2 separate regions of the Homo sapiens genome follow, and region 1 is linked to region 2. The links are contacts of gene promoters, found by promoter capture Hi-C in blood cells and fetal thymus (Javierre and others, 2016). All regions are on one chromosome and are shown on one strand. Each heading gives the region's core, a stretch centred on a gene start or on the middle of the fragment in contact. The rest is flanking DNA. Distances are from core to core; before and after follow the strand shown. Region 1 overlaps ERC1 (ELKS/RAB6-interacting/CAST family member 1). Region 2 holds the start of FBXL14 (F-box and leucine rich repeat protein 14).

Region 1 (3,529 bases), core at 622-3,121, 460 kb after region 2:
AAACAGAGACTAGAAGCCCGAAGTGGTAAGCTTATAACAGAAGTGACACCTGTCCTGCTTTTTCATTGACTTGTTTCCGTGACCTGGAGAACTGAGTTTGGAAGATGCCTCCAGTAACAGAAAATAAGATATCAGGGCAACACAAAGGTTAGGTTGGAACAGGAAGCAAAATCCCAAGCCCCCTTTGGGCAAGTACCCTGCTCTAGAGAAGCCTCAGGCACCCAAATGTTCTGAATGTTCCCTTCCATTACCATTCTCAGACCCTTTGGTCTCAGGACTCCTCAGCACTCTTAAAGATTACTGAGGACCGGCAGGGCACAGTGGCTTAGGCCTGTAATCCCAGCACTTTGGAAGACCAAGGTGGCCAGATCACCAGAGGTCGGGAGTTCAAGACCAGCCTGACCAACAGGGAGAAACCTTGTCTCTACTAAAAATACAAAATTAGTCAGGCATGGTAGCGCATGCCTGTAATCCCAGCTACTCAGGAGGCTGAGGCAGGAGAATCACTTGAACCCGGGAGGCGGAGGTTGCAGTGAGCTGAGATCACGCCATTGCACTCCAGCCTGGGCAACAAGAGCAAAACTATGTCTCAAAAAAAAAAAAAAAAAGTTACTGAGGACCCCCAATTATTGAGTTTTTATTTATGTGAGTTATATCTATCAATATTTGCTACACTCAAAATTAGGGCCAGGTGCGGTGGCTCACACCTGTAATCCCAACACTTTGGGAGGCTGAGGCAGAAGGATCACTTGAGGCCAAAAGTTCAAGACCTCCCTGGGCAACATAGCAAGACACTATCTCTACAAAAAAAAATTTTTTTTAATTAGCCAAGTGTGGTGGCACACACCTATAGTTCTAGCTACTCAGGGGGCTGAAGCAGGAAGATCGCTTGAGCCCAGGAGTTCAAGGCTGCAGTGAGCTATGATCACACCACTGTACTCCAGCCTTGGTAGCAAAGCAAGACACTGTATCTTTAAAAAAAAAAAAAAAATTAGAACAGCTTTTAAATAACAATAAACCCATTATGTTAATCAAAGTAACATTTTAATTTCAAAAACCTGTATTTTCCCCCTAAAATAGTAAGAAGAATATAATTGTTTTAAATTTTTGCAAATCTCTTTAATATAATCAAGGGGGAGGGGGTGCACGAGGAGACTAGCTTTAGAATAAATGCAATTTTGGTACCATCTAACAAAGCTTAAATGAAAGACCCAAAAGAATGAAACTATTTCCAAGTATTTTACCAGCATCACAAAACAAAGTTCAGTAATATTTACAGGAATACAAAATGCCTAGCACCCAACAAGGTAAAACTCACAATGCTTGGCATCCAACCCAAACTCACCAGACAAGCAAAGAAGCAGAAAAACACAACTCATAATACAAGGACAAAAAGCATTCAGTGAAAACTGAGATCAGAAATAACACAGATTACGGTATGATCTCACTTACATATGGAATCTGAATAAAGTTGAACTCAAAGAAACAGAGAAGAGAATGGTGGTTACCAGGGGCTGGGGATAGGAACAGGGAGAGGCATGGGGAGATGCTGATCAAAGGGTACAAACCCTCAGTTATAAAACGAGTAAGTTCTGGGGATCTAATATACAGCAGCGTGTAATTAATAATGCTGTATTATATACCTGAAATTTGCCAAGAGAGTAAAAATCACAACACTCCGCCATGCAAACAAAAAAAGGTCCAAAAGGGAAGTGTCAGAACAGACTGAATATTGATTCAGTTAAAAGAAAAGGATTGCAACCACAGAGTAAAGACCTTAGTGGAATATGAAATTCAACAACCAGGCTGCTCAAGATGCCAAAGAACCCACTGACCCTTATCCACTGGCATTCAGGCACAGCTCAAGCCAGCCAGTGTTGCTACTAATCCTATTTGACAGTGTCAGGTTTGGTTCCTATTAGCTGAACCCATTACAAGGCATCAGTCATGGCGAAGGTGCTTACTGAATCTGGTGACCCTTCTACACAGTTAAGGAGGTCAAAGCCTTAGAAAAGTATACATGTCAGAAATTTGAAAAATAAATAAATCACATAATCATTTGCATCTAATTACTACATGCTAATCTGTATTTTGTATACTATATATTAATCTACCACTACCTCTAACCAAAAGCAAAAAACAAAGCACCTCATTAAAAACAAACAAACAAAAAAAAACCGGCCAGGTGTGGTGGCTCACACCTGTAATCCCAGCACTTTGGGAGGCCGAGGTGGGTGGATCACTTGAGGTGAGGAGTTCAAGACCAGCCTGGCCAACAATGTGAAATCCCGTCTCTACTAAAAATACAGAAAAATTAGTCAGGCGTGGTGGTGCATGCCTGTAATCCCAGCTACTCGGGAGGCTGAAGCAGGAGAATCACTTGAACCTAGGAGGCGGAGGTTGCAGTGAGCCAAGATTGTGCCACTGCACTCCAGCCTGGGTGACAAGAGCGAAACTCCGTCTCAATTAAAAAAAAAAAAACCCACATTATTTTATCCTGTATGTCCTAAATACACAAATTCTTACTACAAAGGCAAAAAGCTTAGGCATTCAAACCTGAAGTCTCAACTGCCTAATTTTCTTGTCTCTCAGTTCTTCTAAGCATTAATTTCAGAAAAAAGCCTTTCCATCTGCGGGACATGGATCTGTATGTAGGAACACATCCCTCATCACTTCTAAGTGTTTTTCATTCTGATGGCACCACCATCACACAGGACAACATTTGTGAGACCCCACATTGCTGCCTCTTTATGAAAGGCACCCAGATGCCCAAGCTGCACTTTATATTGGATCCATGATTCAGTTAAGTGACCTGGAAACATGTCAATGCTGACCGGACATAAATACCCGCACGGCACTGAGAGAGTGTCAAGTATGAATTGGTGACCGAAAAAGGTGACTGAAAAGGGAAAGAATAAGAACTCTTGTTATAAACATACAAACCTTTAGTATAAGTGTGGCTGGAAACACAGGCTTTGATACAAAAAATATTTCATATAATAAATATTAGGAACAGAAACTGCCCGTCCATACCCCTAATTATTAAATGATCTTTTATTGACTAAGTATTCAATTCACATCACCTGTGTACACTTTGTCTTAGTCTGCTTTTTTGTGCAGTACAGAATTCAAATATGCTAGTCTGGAGATTTGAGATAAAAACCACCACAAAAACCACTTTGCTACTACCAGATTAATTGCTCTGAATTCTACACTGATCTTTTGGTTTGGAGTGAACTAAATTTGTAGTATAATTTTGCGTGAGGTCCATATTTTACAAACCACAAAAAACATATTCAGGAAAACCCCTCAAAGACCAGCAGGACACACACAGTCATTGCCCTGACACCAGTCCTGGCAGGAGGAATAAAACCTTGTTTATTCACACCAGCAGAGCTGCAGGAACAGCATTCGCCCAACTTGCCAAGTTTGTCTGTAGCAAACAGGTCATGCCAACTTCAATAAAAACAGAAGGCTTTTGTCTACAAGGTTTTCTCTACCAATGGAAGTGAACAGAAAATGGCTACCC
Region 2 (3,651 bases), core at 421-2,920:
CACCGTACATCTGGATGTACTGGATGACTAACAGTACAGTCTATTTTTTCAAGAAGGTTATAAAAATCTATGGGCTCCACACTGCGTGTAATGTGGGTGAGGTAACAAGCTGGCGAGAATTTTTGCTTCTGCATTTCCTGATTTAGGAAAGAGGAGTGGTAGGGGTGTAAAAGGTGTATTATGCCTATTACTGAATCTGTATGTATTTGGTCTAATAGTGGTTGCTTGGGCAAAAGTTACTCTCCTACACTGAATATGGAACCCCTTCCAAATCTTGTTCAGGTCCTCAAAGAATCAATGAAACCATTTTCCCTTTCTGATAAATCCGCTGGTCTTGTATCTAGTTGTGTGGATCCATAAATTAAAATACAGAGGATCATTTTCTCTGATCCAAAAATTCTTGGTTTGGGGGTAGTTAAAATGAAACTTCTGAAATTCTATCCTTAGTACGGACATTTAGGACCCAGGGGCTACATCCTAGAATGGAATTGTGCCCTGCTTCCATAAAACGGTTGATAAACCAACAGACACGACTGGATTGTCTTAAACCAAGTTCAACTGTCATTCCATTTTAATCAAAAAGTAAATTGGATTCAGCATATACGAATATATTGACTATCAGTACAACTGAGCCATACAACTGATAGTCTAAGGCTGATGACAAGGAGAAAGCTCCTAAAACAAGGCTTAGGGGAAGGCTGTTCCCCTGTAAGCAAAGCGGACTGAGGGCATTGGTGGCGCAGCAGCGTTCAGAAGTAGAGGGAAGTTTTGATGTATCAAGTACCGAGGGAAACACACACAGCGTGTCTGGAAACCATCAGAAGATGCTAGAAGGAAGTAGTCATGGATAATTCTAGAAATTTCTAGAACACCGACTGGAGGGGGTCATTGTTTAAGATGAGTACAGCCGAGTTTCTCTCCAATTTAAGACACAAGACTGGAGAGAAAGGCGTCGTAGTAAACAGCCCCAACCGGGGGAGCAGGGGGTGTGATAATGAGGCGTTAAGGGGCATTAGGGACAGTAAGAAAAGGAGAGTTGGGGTGACGATTATTGAGCACTGCTATAGGAGGCGGCTCTCGCAGGGATAATCAAGGGAGAGGGGTGTGAAATAAGGGTAACGAATTGCAGGGGTAAACTGTGGGAAGGGGCTGCGCAGACTTCAACAGCAAAGAAAAAGAAGGAACGGGGCTGGGGCGTGGCCCAGAGAGGGAACGGCTCAATAACGGGCTACCGGGTGAAAAGAAGCCGGGTGGGGAGGCGCTCTGCTGACAGCTGCCGCTCCCCCGTGGCGCCCACAGGGTTAAAAATCAGGGGCCACGGGACCAGGCCGAACTCGGTTTCCAGGGCAACGGCTCCACAGTTCCGGCAGCGCAGGCCCGTACCATTGCGCGGGCGCGGGGGAGCGGGAGCGGCGGAGGGGACGCGCTGCAGGGCGGCGGAGCCGGGGCCGGCCCGGGCGCTACCAAACGCACGGCCCGCCTGCTCGCCCGGGGTCTGCGCCGAGCCGCGCTCCGGCCGGACGGCCGCGGCGTCCTTGGTGCGGGGGCCGGCAGCTCCCAAGTGGCCGCGGACGGCGGGGGAGAAGGAACGCACGCCGCCGGCCGGGATTGGCCTCCTGGTCCCCCCGCCTGGGCGGCGGAGTGCGGGCGGCCCGGGGCTGGGAGGTTTGAAAAGCGGGCGAGAGACAAAGGCAGCAGGAAGCCTCCTCCGCGCCCGGAGCCCGTGCGCCCGGCCCCCGGGGCCCCCTCGCCGCCCGCCGGCCCGCGGAGCAGCGGCGGCGGCAGGAGGCGGAGGATGCGGCAGGGGGCGTGGGCGCGGCGGCGCGGGCGGAGCGGCGCGGCCCGGGCGCGGCGTGGGTAGAGCCGAGGCGGCGGCGGCGGCCGGCCTCCGGGAGCGAGAGCGAGGCGCCTTCCCCGCCCGGGATGTGAGCGCCGTGCGGAGCCCGGGGCGGGGGAGGGCCGGGCCGGAGGCGCAGCCGGCAGGAAGGAAGGACGGACGGACCAGGAGGAGGAGCGGCGGCGGCGGCCGGAGCCGGAAGGCGGGGAGGGGCCGGCCGTTGGGCCCGAGGCGGCGGCGGCGGCGGCGGCGGCGGCTGGGGAGAAGCGCTCTCGTCGCCTGCCCGAGGCCGGAGCGGCGGGGCCCGCGCCTCCTCCCCCCAGCGCCGCGGAGGGGGGAGGAGGAAGATGGAGACCCACATCTCATGCCTGTTCCCGGAGCTGCTGGCCATGATCTTCGGCTACCTGGACGTCCGGGACAAGGGGCGCGCGGCGCAGGTGTGCACCGCCTGGCGGGACGCCGCCTACCACAAGTCGGTGTGGCGGGGGGTGGAGGCCAAGCTGCACCTGCGCCGGGCCAACCCGTCGCTGTTCCCCAGCCTGCAGGCCCGGGGCATCCGCCGGGTGCAGATCCTGAGCCTCCGCCGCAGCCTCAGCTACGTGATCCAGGGCATGGCCAACATCGAGAGCCTCAACCTCAGCGGCTGCTACAACCTCACCGACAACGGGCTGGGCCACGCGTTTGTGCAGGAGATCGGCTCCCTGCGCGCTCTCAACCTGAGCCTCTGCAAGCAGATCACTGACAGCAGCCTGGGCCGCATAGCCCAGTACCTCAAGGGCCTGGAGGTGCTGGAGCTGGGAGGTTGCAGCAACATCACCAACACTGGCCTTCTGCTCATCGCCTGGGGTCTGCAGCGCCTCAAGAGCCTTAACCTCCGCAGCTGCCGCCACCTTTCGGATGTGGGCATCGGGCACCTGGCCGGCATGACGCGCAGCGCGGCGGAGGGCTGCCTGGGCCTGGAGCAGCTCACGCTACAGGACTGCCAGAAGCTCACAGATCTTTCTCTAAAGCACATCTCCCGAGGGCTGACGGGCCTGAGGCTCCTCAACCTCAGCTTCTGTGGGGGAATCTCGGACGCTGGCCTCCTGCACCTGTCGCACATGGGCAGCCTGCGCAGCCTCAACCTGCGCTCCTGTGACAACATCAGTGACACGGGCATCATGCATCTGGCCATGGGCAGCCTGCGCCTCTCGGGGCTGGATGTTTCGTTCTGTGACAAGGTGGGAGACCAGAGTCTGGCTTACATAGCCCAGGGGCTGGATGGCCTCAAGTCTCTCTCCCTCTGCTCCTGCCACATCAGTGATGATGGCATCAACCGCATGGTGCGGCAGATGCACGGGCTGCGCACGCTCAACATTGGACAGTGTGTGCGCATCACGGACAAGGGCCTGGAGCTGATCGCTGAGCACCTGAGCCAACTCACCGGCATAGACCTGTACGGCTGCACCCGAATCACCAAGCGCGGCCTGGAGCGCATCACGCAGCTGCCGTGCCTCAAGGTACTCAACCTGGGACTCTGGCAGATGACGGACAGTGAGAAGGTCAGGTGAGGGCGGCAGCACCAGCTCCCCTTGTCCCGCCCTGTTCATCCTCCCATTACCACCGCCCCCACACACTCACACGCACACTTACGCACAGATCATTGCAGCGGATGAGATGGGGCTATGACAGAAGCCTCAGGCTCGTTTCCTCCTCCCTCCTCCAGCCCCCTCCCGGCTTCCAGCCCATTCTCTTTGCAGCTGGGGTTCCTACCCTACCCTACTCCCAGCTCCTTTTCCCCGCGGATGGAGAGATGGACTCTGCTGCTTACCCAC

Evidence for each region. The method cuts DNA at HindIII sites, captures the fragments that hold promoters and counts their contacts. A CHiCAGO score of 5 or more calls a contact.
Region 1: a fragment that was not itself captured here is called in contact with the fragment with the promoter of FBXL14 in region 2 in 3 of 17 cell types (total CD8 T cells, M0 macrophages and naive CD4 T cells); the score reaches 6.6 in total CD8 T cells.

What each region holds. Positions count from the first base shown.
Region 1 is chr12:1,131,808-1,135,336 of GRCh38, reverse strand. All of the region lies in intron 7 of ERC1 (ELKS/RAB6-interacting/CAST family member 1), which reads right to left. Among named protein-coding and RNA genes, the nearest start is that of ERC1, 140 kb to the right of the region's middle. The HindIII fragment of the contact is 1,344 bases long and covers 1,200-2,543 here.
Region 2 is chr12:1,592,600-1,596,250 of GRCh38, reverse strand. FBXL14 (F-box and leucine rich repeat protein 14) reads left to right here and starts at 1,670. Exons shown (of 2, transcript NM_152441.3): 1 at 1,670-3,378. The coding sequence starts at 2,185. RefSeq lists enhancers at 966-1,035, 2,406-2,595, 3,113-3,651 and silencers at 1,296-2,165, 3,146-3,195. The HindIII fragment of the contact is 12,621 bases long and covers 1-3,651 here.